Linked DNA regions of Homo sapiens: regions 2 and 3 are each linked to region 1. The links are contacts of gene promoters, found by promoter capture Hi-C in blood cells and fetal thymus (Javierre and others, 2016). All regions are on one chromosome and are shown on one strand. The core of a region is centred on a gene start or on the middle of the fragment in contact, and the rest is flanking DNA. Distances in the headings are between cores, read along the strand shown. Region 1 holds the start of ALOX15 (arachidonate 15-lipoxygenase). Region 2 overlaps ANKFY1 (ankyrin repeat and FYVE domain containing 1). Region 3 overlaps ANKFY1 (ankyrin repeat and FYVE domain containing 1).

Region 1 (4,001 bases), core at 530-3,029:
TACTCTAGCCCGGGCAACAGAGCAAGACTCCATCTCATTAAAAAAAAAAACACCAAAAACAAAAAACAAGCAAACCAGAAAATATGCATCACAGACATATTTTCGTGGACTTCATTTGTGTTACCAGGCTGATTGTAATCCATGCCATGAAGTTTATGTTAGTATTCCCCTTTTGTTTACATTGCCTGATAATTTGTTTCCCTTTGTCTCCCCCAAGGGAAGCATTCATTTATAATGAATTTTTCAGCTCAGTGTGTTTCAGCAAACACTTATTGACACCCACAAACCCTGACACTGTGCCGTCTCCAGGGGAAACAAAAGTGAGAGTCCTGCTGGGTGTGTAGTCCCTGCCTAGGACGGGCTCACATTAGTGGGGGATACACACATACAAATGCTCACACTGCAGTATTAACTGTGCAACAGTAGAAGTGTGCGCAAGGAGAAAAGTGTTAGAAAGGAAAGCTGGGCCGGGCGCCGTGGCTCACACCTGTAATTCCAGCACTTTGGGAGACTGAGGTGGGTGGATCACAAGGTCAGGAGTTCAAGACCAGCGTGGCCAACATGGAGAAACCCCGTCTCTACTAAAAATACAAAAATTATCCAGGCATGGTGGCAGGCGCCTGTAATCCCAGCTACTCGGAAGGCTGAGGCAGAGAATTGCTTGAGCCCGGGAGGCAGAGGTTGCCGTGAGCCGAGATCGTGCCATTGCACTCCACCCTGCATTCCAGGGTGACAGAGTGAGACTCTATATCTCAAAAAAAAAAAAAAAAGGAAAGCTAATTCACTCTGGTGGGGTGGTGGGGGGTGAAAGTACCGGGTAAGACTTTCCTGAGAAACCGGAGGTGAACTAGGGTTTAGAAGCATGAATAGATGAATAGACTAATCCAGGAGCAAGTTCTTTTGAGAGAACAGCAGGTGGGGTTCTGGGGAACACATGGCTCCAGCCCAAAAAGAAACTGGAGACGAATTAGGGTTTAGAAGCATGACCAGACTAACCCAGAAGTGAGTTCTTTGAGAGAACAGCAGGGGCGGCGGGGGGAGGGGGGGTTCCGGGGAACACATGGCTCCAGCACAGGAGATGCCAGGGTGCAGTGGGATGAGAGGTGAGGAGAGCAGGTCAGGTTAGCAAGGGCATTGAATGCCAGAAACATTTGGACTTTTATTCTGCAGGCAACAGGGAGGCAGCGGCTTTTATGCTCAAAAGGAATGAGTCCCAGTGGCTGGCACAGAGAAGGCAAGTGTGCAAAGCTGGTCGAATGAATTCCGTGGCCTGAATGTACCTTCCTCAAATGCCACTGCAAACTGGGTCTCCTCGCCCACTTCACCCTCTCCTGCAATCCAACTTGTGAGGCTTGTGTGTGCGCGCGCGTGTCCTTGCGTGTGTGTGTGTGTGCACGCGTGCGTTTAGATGGAGGTTGGCTTCCCAGCCACCCAGGCTTGGCCCAAAGTCCGTGGTACACACGTGCATAACTCCTACCCCCACCTCGCCTGCCTGCTGTACCAGGCGTTGATTCCCTCTTCCTGCGTGTTTTCGGTCCAAATCCTTTTCTTTTTCTCCCTCCCGTCAAGATAGTGGTTTCCACTCCCTGCTCTCGCCAGGACACCGCCTTTTGGACTGGGGCTGAATTCTGCCCCTTGAAGCTCTGCTCCTTGGAGCTGGGGGCCCCAGCGGTAGGCGGAGTTGATTGGAGACCTGCCACCCACATTCCGACCCCAAGCGACCTCCGAGAGGGCGGGGTCTCAGGCTGGGTTATTTAGCTCGTCCACCCTTCTCCACCAGAAGGAGCGAAACATCTTTGAGCAAGATGGGTCTCTACCGCATCCGCGTGTCCACTGGGGCCTCGCTCTATGCCGGTTCCAACAACCAGGTGCAGCTGTGGCTGGTCGGCCAGCACGGGGAGGCGGCGCTCGGGAAGCGACTGTGGCCCGCACGGGGCAAGGTGAGCTCCCCAGAGCCGGGCGGGGTGGGCTGCGCCCCTGGCTCCGAGTCAGTCAAATACCGGGGAGGACATGCGCCCCCGTTGGCCTCTGGCCGATTCTCTTTGCCAAGGGCCCGCGCATTGGGCTCAAAGCGCGCGGAGGCCACGGGGGTGGGGGGCTTTAGGGCAGTCGGTGGCACACAGTAAGCGCTCAATAAATGTTGCCGCTACCCGATCTCCTTGGAATTGAGGGCATGCTCCTGTGCGCCCCTCATTGCACAAAGCTCCCTTGTCTGGAAACTCAGCAGTCACTGGAGCCGCCGTCGGTCCTCTCGCTTTCTCTATTTTAAAAACCGTTTCAACCGCTAGCGCTGTTGGATCTCTACCTTTCAGGCTTTATCACCTGGGGTGGAGTGGGTGGTGAGAGGGAAGGGATGGGGAGTCAAGACAGGAGAACGCTCTCGATTTCCCGACCCACCTCCCGTCATATCTCATGTCACATCTACCGGGTGTTCTACCCGGTCCTGTTAACTTTTTTTCTTCCGCGAAAGCCCAAATTCCCATCACTGCTCTAGCTCTCTCCCAGATCCCCAAATCCGGATGTCTGTCTCAGGGAACGTCAAAGCAACATGCCCGGATGAGGTCCTCCCCTCTCCCCACCTCCCAGCCCTCTCCTCCTGCCTCCCCCGGTGTCACCCGCGCCTCCTTCCTCTCTTCACCTCCCTCTAAACAAGAATCCGGCGCAGTCAGTTCTAGACCCTGAGCATCTCCCGCGTCCCTGCCCAATATCCGTCCCGCCCCCGACCGCCCGCGTCCTCTTGAACCTGCGGAGCCCTGCTCCCCGCACTCCACGCCCTTGCTCCGAGCTTCCGAGAAAGCGGGGCAAAGGGAGCCAGGAAGAGAGAAAATGCGCACGGAGCAGGTGGCCCCGCGACTCCATGGTGAGGGGACGGGGCACGGAAGGTGGAAAGGCGCGCTCCCTCCTCCCTTTTTTCCTCCCTATGGTGGGCAGTTGGTGACACACAGTAAAGGCTCAATAAATGTTCCCGCTACTCGATCTCCTTGGAATTAAGGGGATGCTCCTGAGCGCCCCTCATTCCACACAGCTCTGGTGCCTGGAAACTGCGGTCGCCGGAGCGGTCGTCGGTCCTCCCGGTTTCTCTATTTTAAAAGCCATTTCAAACCTCCAGCGGCCTCGCCACCTCTGCTGCAGACCTTCCAAGCCCTTCTGAAGCCGGAATGATTTCTCCCTAATTCACTCCCCCTGCTTAACACATTCGAACGGCTCCCGCTTGTTCTCGGGACCAAATCCAAAGCCCCTGGCGCCACCTTCGAGAGCCTCCGGACCTGCTGACCCCCCACACCTGGGCTCTGAGCTCCAGCTCCAAGATGCTGCTCGCCCTCCCTTCCCCGCCGCTCTCTTTCTGCGCGCCTTTCCCCTGCCTTCCCTTTCTGTCACTCTCCCTGGCTGAGCCCTCTCCGCCTCCAGGTCTCCGGGAAGGTTGTCCCCAGGCCGGTGGGGCCCCTGCAGGTCCTCAGCCTCGGGCGGGGTGGGGTGGGGGGTCGCACAGCGGGAATTGCCACCAGCGCGTCCGGGCTCCACAGCGCGCTCGTCCAGGGCGCGGCAGCGCTCAGCCCAGCGCTTGGCACAGTCAGTGACCACAGGGAGGAGAAAGTGAAGGCAGGAGCGCACCTTCCCACCTGCCGTCCCCGTCCCCTCAGAACCGAGTCCTGGGGCCACCTGCTCGGCGCGGTCCCTCTCTCTCTGGCTCAGTCCCCGCACCCCGATACGTCTCCTCCTCTCAGAGGCTCCGAGGAAGGGCGTGGGCGCTGGAGGGAGCAGGGCTCAGCCGGGTGCCCCTCCCGCCAGGCCCCACCGGGGCTGAGCCTCTTCTGTCGCCCGCAGGAGACAGAACTCAAGGTGGAAGTACCGGAGTATCTGGGGCCGCTGCTGTTTGTGAAACTGCGCAAACGGCACCTCCTTAAGGACGACGCCTGGTTCTGCAACTGGATCTCTGTGCAGGGCCCCGGAGCCGGGGACGAGGTCAGGTTCCCTTGTTACCGCTGGGTGGAGGGCAACGG
Region 2 (4,001 bases), core at 572-3,071, 440 kb after region 1:
GTGATCGTGCCAGTGCACCAGCCTGGGTGGCGGGGGTGAGACTCTGTCTCAAAAAATAAGAAGAAGAATGGTTTTTCTGTAAGTTACTCAGCCTTTGTTGAGTCAGGATCTCTCTCTGTCACCCAGGCTAGAGTGCAGTGGCACAGTCATAGCCCACTGCAGTCTCGAACTCTGGGGCTCAAGCGATCCTCCCACCTCATCCTCCTGAGTAGCTGGAACCACAGCTGTTGTCACCGCTCCTTGCTAAGTTTTTTTTTGTAGAGATGGGGTCTCCCCATGTTGCCAGGCTGGTCTTGAACTCTTGGGCTCAAGTGATCCTCCCACCTCGGCCTTCCAAAGACCTGGGATGTTATTCAGTCTTAATTTGATATCTGTAAATTGTCCTAGGTAGACTCTTATCTGTAATACTCCAAGAGGTAAGTCAATGGAAGGGATTTAGAAAGAAATTTTGTTTCCACAACAAGGTTATTTACCATGTGAAATTTTTGTAAATAGTAATGTGTACAGATACTCTGTTCAAATATTTCATTGTAAACTTCTTATTAAGTCAGTTATGTGTATATAATGAGATTACAAAACTAAAAAGAGGCCGGGCACGGTGGCTCACATCTGTAATCCCAGCATTTTGGGAGGCCGAGGCAGGTGGTTTTCCTGAGCTCAGGAGTTTGAGACCAGCCTGTACATCATGGTGAAACCCCGTCCCTACTAAAATACAAAAAATTAGCCAGGTGTGGTGGCACATGCCTATAGTCCCAGCTGCTTGGGAGGCTGAGACATGAGAATTGCTTGAATTTCGGAGGCGGAAGTTGCAGTGAGCTGAGATTGCACCACGGCACTCCAGCCTGGGTGACAGAGCAAGGCTCTGTCTGAAAAAAAAAAAAATCTAAAAAGAAAATAAATTTTATAATAATAAAACAGACATGGGATTACTCTGAGTAGGAACGTGAATGCAAGTACAGCAGAATGGGGGTAGGTGTTGCTTAGTTAGGTACAAGCTGTGGTCAGGAAATAAGAAAGAAAGAGAAAGAGAGAGAGAAATTGTGTAGGGAGGGATCCTGGAAACCCTTCTGAGAGATGACCGAAGGAGGCCTTTGAAGAGTAGAAGCCTAGTGTTCTTTTTTTTTTTTTTAAGACGGAGTTTTGCTCTTAATCCCCAGGCTGGAGTGCAATGATGTGGTCTCAGCTCACCGCAACCTCCACCCCCTGGGTTCAAGCGAATCTCGTGCCTCAGCCTCCCAAGTAGCTGGGATTACAGGCGTGCACCACCACGCCCGGCTAGTTTTGTATTTGTAGTAGAGACGGGGTTTTTCCCTGTTGGTCAGGCTGGTCTCCAACTCCCGACCCCAGGTGATCCGCCCACCTCGGCCTCCCAAAGTGTTGGGACGACAGGCATGAGCCACTGCGCCTGGCCCAGCCTAGTATTCTTAAACAGTGAAAGGATACTGAGGTGAGGAGGCAGGACAAGTGGTAACAGGTAACCAAAAATTGAGCAGAGCCTTTTGAATTCGTCTGTAACTCCATGATCTCAATGAGTTTCCACTTACAGATGCCCCAAGAGGTTCCTTCAGACACATCTAGTTATCGCTCTCCTTTGTCTGCAGTCATTTTCTGCTCCCTCTTGAAGAAGCACTGGCCAGAATACTTTGCCCTGACACTGTTTCTTCTATTATTTCTTTTCAAGGAGATCTCTTTGCTGCCACTTTCCTCATTAAGAATGGGGCCTTTGTCAACGCTGCTACACTGGGTGCCCAGGAGACACCACTGCACCTTGTGGCCTTGTACAGTTCAAAGAAACACTCAGCAGATGTGATGTCTGAGATGGCGCAGATTGCAGAGGCCCTTCTGCAGGCTGGTGCCAACCCCAACATGCAGGACAGCAAGGGGAGGTAAGCTGGGGAGCAGACACTGTGCCCTTAGCACTGTTCTCAGAAGATATCTTACAGTAGCATGTAATTGGCATACGGGGAGTTCATGTTCTTTAGTTTGGCATTATTCAGTCTTATTTTCATTAAAGTCACAGACATCGATGTGTAGTAGTAGTGTCACTACTAAAACCAGAGGCATTTGGGGAAAACATTTCTATCCTGGGTAACTGAAGTCTTCGAGGTTTTTTTTGTGTGTTGTTTGTTTGTTTTTAATTGTGTCAGCATCTCACTCTGTCACCCAGGCTGGAGCGCAGTGGTATGATCTTGGCTCACTGCAGCCTCTACCTCCTGAGCACAGGTGATCCTCTCACCTCAGCCTCCTGAGTAGGTGAGACTACAGGCACACGCCACCCCACTTGGCTGATTTTTGTATTTTGGTGGAGACAGGGTTTTGCCATGTTGTCCAGGCTGGCCTCGAACTCCTGAGCTCAAGCAATCTGCCCACCTCGGTCTCCCAAAGTGCTGGGATTACGGGCGTGAGCCAGTTTTCGAGCTTTTAAGCAATTTGTATCTCATGTTTGAAGGAACCAGAGTGGTCATCTAGTCCAGTGCCTCCAAGGAAACCTTGTAGCATTTCTTAGAGTTGCTTGGATAGTTTGAAGAACTATTGAGGTCTAATTGTTAGAAAATTCTAATTGTTAGAAAATTCTCTATATTAAACCCAATTTTACCTTCTCGTAAACACTCCCACTTTATCTGCACAGCTTGCTACCTTTGTCCATAGCACGGCCCTTTGCATATTTAACAATATTTATTGTGTTCATTTTGCCCCTTTCCAGAAATAGTTGAGGATTCCTTGTGGTAGGATCTGAGAAAAGGCTACTTGTCTTGGGACAGTGGTGTGAGGGGCTGTGAAGGATAGTTAAGTCACCTGAATCACTGACCACAGTTGGGACCCGCTTGTCATTAGAACATTCTCAGTATTTTATACCTTTGAAAAACCTCTCAAAAAAAAGATTTTTTGTAAAGTTTGGTTGTCAGACAGGAGAATGTATTTATGTGATAGATAAGTACGTAAATAAGATGTAGCTTCATGAAATCTCAGTATCATGTGATAATTACCTTATTTCCTAAAATAATTGCATCCCTTTCCCTGCTGTTGATTCTTTCATTTTTTTCCTCCAACGGCAATAAACTCGCAGTGTGTGTGTGTGTGTGTGTGTGTGTGTGTGTGTGTGTGTGTGTGTGTAGTAGATGCAGCCTTGGGCTCTGACTCAAAGTGTGTGTTTTTGGGGGGAGGTGGGGGGCGGGGTAGGTGCAGCCTTGGGCCCTGACTCACTGTGTGGGTGGGGGGTGGTGGGGGGGGTGGGTGGGTAGGTGCAGCCTTGGGCCCTGACTCGGGGGTGTGTGTGTGTGTGTGTTAGTGGTGGCTCTGCAGTGCCAGTCTCCTGCAGGGCTCCCGAGTGCTAAATGAAAGCAGTGAAAGGGGTTAAATGCCGCTTTCATCAGTTCTTTCCTGTTGCTGCTCTGAGTGTGTTTGAGAAGAATAGAAGATTATGGGGGAGAGTTTCCTTTTAGAATTGATGGAGAAGAGATGAGGGAAAATCTGCACACCTGTGGCAGAAACTGCTGTTCTCAAGAAAATCCTGTCTGTGCCTTCAGGAAGGGGTTGGGATTGAGTTGGGGAGTATTTGAGATCACTTCCTTGAGCTGATTCTTGTCCATTTTGGCCGCTGAATAATGGTCACATATAAGCAGATCCGTTTTCAGGTTTTGATACTGGGTCATGGTTTTAGAAGCCTTGTAGAAATGTGGGATTTCTTGCGGGTGGTGATTCTGCCTGGGATTCTGGTTGCGTCTTGCCGTGAGTCATCCTGAACAGGCCTGTCCTGAACTGACCCCTCTTCTTTTGGATCCCGCAGGACTCCTTTACATGTGTCCATCATGGCCGGGAATGAATATGTGTTCAGTCAGCTGCTGCAGTGCAAACAGTACGTAGGGAGACACGCACAAGTGAGAAGGCGGTTGTGAGGGGGGATTGTGAGTGAAAAATCATTCTTTTTAAACATCTTTAGTGTTGCATATATTAAGAAGTTAAAGTGAGCTAAAAAAAAATGTGTCATTGAAAAAGGGTAA
Region 3 (4,001 bases), core at 1,408-3,907, 420 kb after region 1:
AGGCACAGTGGTATGTGTCTATAGTCCCGTTTACTCGGCAGGCTCAGGTGGGAGAATTGATTGAGCCTGGGAGGTCGAGGCTGTAGTAAGCTGTGATTGCACCATTGTACTCCAGCCTGGGCAACAGTGGCTCTGTCCCTAAATAAATAAAGTAAAAAACAAAGTCAGTTTACTCAGTATGTTTCATTTAATGGTTAATTGCATACAGATCAGTTTATTCCCATCCATTTCAGATGTCTTGGAAAACATTTATTTAAAATTCAAACCAAAACAAAAAACTAGGCCACATAGAAAATCCTAAAGTCTCCAAAGTGTATTTACATGCATCCTGGCCTGCAGTGAAACGAAGTCAGAAGTTTCAGTGTTATTTTACTTTTCATCCTTGAAGTCAGAGATTTTTCTGGCTTGCATGCAGGGCCTTCTGAGAGATGATTACCTCCCTCACGCAGGACTCGGAGGCCAACTGCTTTCTCTTCTGAGTCTACTCCTTTTAGAGAGAACTCGTGCTTTATGCAGTCATCTGACTTTTACAACCACTTGCTTAAGTAGATTGGAAGCAGACAGTGTGGACGATTTACCCACAAGTACCCAGTTGCAGCACACACTGTCCTTCCTGATCCTTGTTCTCTGCCTACCCTTATACCACTGGCTGCTTCGTCTGAGTCACAAAGTGAATTTATTCTCAGTGTATTTTGTAGATGAGGGGAAGAGTCACGGCAGGAGTGGGAAAGCTTGTAAATCACTTGAACCTCATTTTGTTTGAAATATCAAGCCCTCCCAGGAAATCCCTACTGAAAGTAGTTTAAAAAAGTTTTTTGATAATCTAGGTTTTTGTTTATTACTTGTACAGGTCAAGATTAACCGGGCAAGTTTGCAAATAGTATTTAAGAAACTGCTACTGTAGGGAAGGTGTTTGAGGGTGTTGGTGCTGGGGATTCTCTCAGCAGATAGGAACGAGCTGTCTTCAAGATCAGGCCATGTGAGTCTAGTAGGATGTGTTTTGGGATTTTTGGTTGCTGTGGACAAATCACATGGCCTACATTTTTTTTGTTGTTCATTACGATGACTACTGAGGTATTGAACCCAATTTACAAAGCCTGCTTAGAAATTTGGCCTACTTCCAAGATCTACTATGGTGATCTTAGACAGCTTAGCTGAAGCACCTAGGTTGTTTAAATAAATCTAATTAGTTTTCTGTCTGGTGTTAAAATGTTTTCTCTTTTAAAACATTTTAAAAGTGCTACTACTGGCCGGGCAGGGTGGCTCACGCCTGTAATCCCAGCACTTTGGGAGGCCGAAGCAGGTGGATCACCTGAGGTTAGGAGTTCAAGACCAGTCTGGCTAACATGGTGAAACCCCATCTCAACTAAAAATACAAAAAAATTAGCTGGGCATGGCAGCAGGCACATGTAATCCCAGCTACGTTGGGAGTCTGAGGCAGGAGAATCTCTTGAACCCGGGAGGCAGAGGTTGCAGTGAGCTCAGATCGCGCCACTGCACTCCAGCCTGGGTGACAAGAGCAAAACTCTGTCTCAAAAAAAAGAAAAGGTGCTATTACTATATTATTCAGTGAGAGAAAAAAGAAAAACTTTAACATAGTAACTACAATATTATCATTTTAGTGTATTTCACTTTTTCTTTTTCTTTTTCTTTTTTTTTTACTTTTAATATCTGGTTGTTTTAGGAGATGGTGAATTAACCTGGTTGCAGGTAAGTCGGGGTCTTCAAGTCCACTCACTTGACATTGCCCCCTTCAAGCTGCTCCTTCCCACTCTAGTTGGAAAGGAGAGTAATCAGAGCTAATGAGCCAATTCCTAATTATGAAGTTAATAAGGTGTTCCTGGTCCTTGTTGCACCTTTCCTAGGTAATCAAGAATCAAGTACGGTTTCTGAAACCTTAGTGAGCATCAGAATCACATAGAGGACTTGTTAGGACATGTGCTGGGCCCCATCTCTGGTTTCTCATTCAGCAGGTCTGGGGTAGGACAGAGAATCAGATTTCCAATCAGTTATCAGATGAGGCTGAATCTCCTGGCCCAGGACAACACCGTGAGAATTACTTGCGTTGACCATGATTTTAAGTATTCCTCTGACCATCACTCTTCTTATTCTGACTAATCAAGAGTTAACTCTGGTTGAAATAATAGTTTAGATATTTTATACTATGATTCTCATCCCAAGCATTTCCCCAAGTTGCTGTACAGTCTTTATTTTAACTTAAAAAGATTGCACAAATAATGCATGTTCCTTAAATAAAAATAAAGCTAAAAGTAAAATTAAGCTAAAAGAAAAATTAGTTATAAATTCCACCTGGGTTGATATTTTAGTATATATCCTTCCAATCTCTTGAGAGACAGACACAGAAAAATGTGTGTCTGCCTCTCTATGTGTGTAGTGTGTAGTGTGTGTAGGTATTATATATATATGTATGCATGCATACACACACAGGTGTATCTTAACAAAAAGCAAGACCTATTTTTTTTTCTTTTTCTTTTTGAGACAGGGTCTTGCTCTGCCACCCATGCTGGAGTGCAGTGGTGCAGTCACGGCTCAGTACTGCCTCAACCTCCCGGCTCAATTTCTCTTCCCACATTGGCCCCTTGAGTAGCTGGGACTACAGACACATGCCGCCACTAATGGCATGTGCCCAGCTAATTTTTATATTTTTTGGTTTTATTTTGTTTAATTTTTTTCTTCTGTAGTTTTTGGGGAACAGGCAGTGTTTGGTTACATGGCTAAGTTCTTTAGTGGTGATTTCTGAGATTTTGGTGTAATTTTTGAATTTTTGTAAAGACAGAGGGTTTCACCATGTTGCTCACACTGGTCTTGAATTCCTGGGCTCAAGCCATCCGCCCACCTTGGCCTCCCAAAGCATTGAGATTACAGGCGTGAGCCACTGTACCCAGCCAATGAGATCTTATACAAGTATTTTTAGCCTACTTTTCAAAAAGCCTATGTAGTAAATATCTTATGTTGAATATATATCTATCTAGTTTTCATTGCATTTGTTCAGTGTGTATGTATATTGTAATTTATTTAATTAGTTCTCCATTGTTGGACTCTTACGATTTTTGTTCTAGTTCTTCATTAATAATATTGTGCTGAGCATCTTAGTACATTTTTCTTTATCTGTCCAGTTATTTTCTTTGGATAATGTCTACATATGTAGTTGCTGTGTGAAAGGTTATGTTCTTTAAAAAATCTTTGCTAGTCTGAGAGATAAAAAAATGTACTCTGATTTCAGTTTGTATTTGGTTATCAGTAAGGTTTACTAGCCATTATTTATCTTTGTGAATTACCTATTTGTATCCATTGCCCATTTTTCCATTGGGTATCCGTCTTTTTATTTTTATTTGTAAGGTCTTTTTATCATAAAGAATGTTAACTCAGGCTGGGTGAAGCGGCTCACGCCTGTAATCCTAATGCTTTAGGAGGCCGAGGCAGTTGGATTCTTTGAGCCCAGGATTTCGAGACCAGCCTGGGCAACATGGTGAAACCGTCTCTGCAAAAAATACAAAAATTAACCTGGTATGCTAGCATGCACCTGCGGTCCCAGCTACTCGGGAGGCTGAGGTGTAAGGACCACTTGAGCCCAGGGAGTTCGAGGCTTCAGTGAGGCATGATTGTGCCACTGCATTCCAGCCTGGGTGACGTAGTGAGACCCTGTCTCAAAAAGAAAAAAAAAATAATGTTAATTCTTTGTCATATGTTTCAAATATTTTCCCCAATTTATTCGACATATCTTTAGTAGGTTTATTTCCTCACTCACTGCCCACTGCGAAAGTTTAGTCAGATGTTGCCCAGACTGCTGAGTCACCTTTTTTTTGAGACGGAGTCTCCCTCTGTCACCCAGGCTGGAGTGCAGTGGCTCAATCTCTGCTCACTGCAACCTCCGTCTCCCGGGTTCAAGCGATTCTCCTGCCTCAGCCCGAGTAGCTGGGATTACAGGTGCACGCCACCAGGCCCGGCTAATTTTTTTTGTATTTTTAGTAGACATGGGG

Evidence for each region. Contacts are between HindIII fragments. The CHiCAGO score rates a contact against its expected background, and 5 or more counts as called.
Region 2: a contact is called between a fragment that was not itself captured here and the fragment with the promoter of ALOX15 in region 1, in 1 of 17 cell types (naive B cells). The highest score is 5.5, in naive B cells.
Region 3: a fragment that was not itself captured here is called in contact with the fragment with the promoter of ALOX15 in region 1 in 1 of 17 cell types (naive CD4 T cells); the score reaches 5.1 in naive CD4 T cells.

The regions. Positions count from the first base shown.
Region 1 is chr17:4,639,456-4,643,456 of GRCh38, reverse strand. ALOX15 (arachidonate 15-lipoxygenase) reads left to right here and starts at 1,779. Exons shown (of 14, transcript NM_001140.5): 1 at 1,779-1,940; 2 at 3,826-4,001. The coding sequence starts at 1,806. The HindIII fragment of the contact is 20,783 bases long and covers 1-4,001 here.
Region 2 is chr17:4,195,258-4,199,258 of GRCh38, reverse strand. ANKFY1 (ankyrin repeat and FYVE domain containing 1) reads left to right here. Exons shown (of 25, transcript NM_001330063.2): 8 at 1,682-1,886; 9 at 3,788-3,856. Among named protein-coding and RNA genes, the nearest start is that of CYB5D2, 54 kb to the right of the region's middle. The HindIII fragment of the contact is 8,607 bases long and covers 1-4,001 here.
Region 3 is chr17:4,217,372-4,221,372 of GRCh38, reverse strand. The region is part of intron 3 of ANKFY1 (ankyrin repeat and FYVE domain containing 1); the gene reads left to right. Among named protein-coding and RNA genes, the nearest start is that of ANKFY1, 45 kb to the left of the region's middle. The HindIII fragment of the contact is 3,847 bases long and covers 734-4,001 here.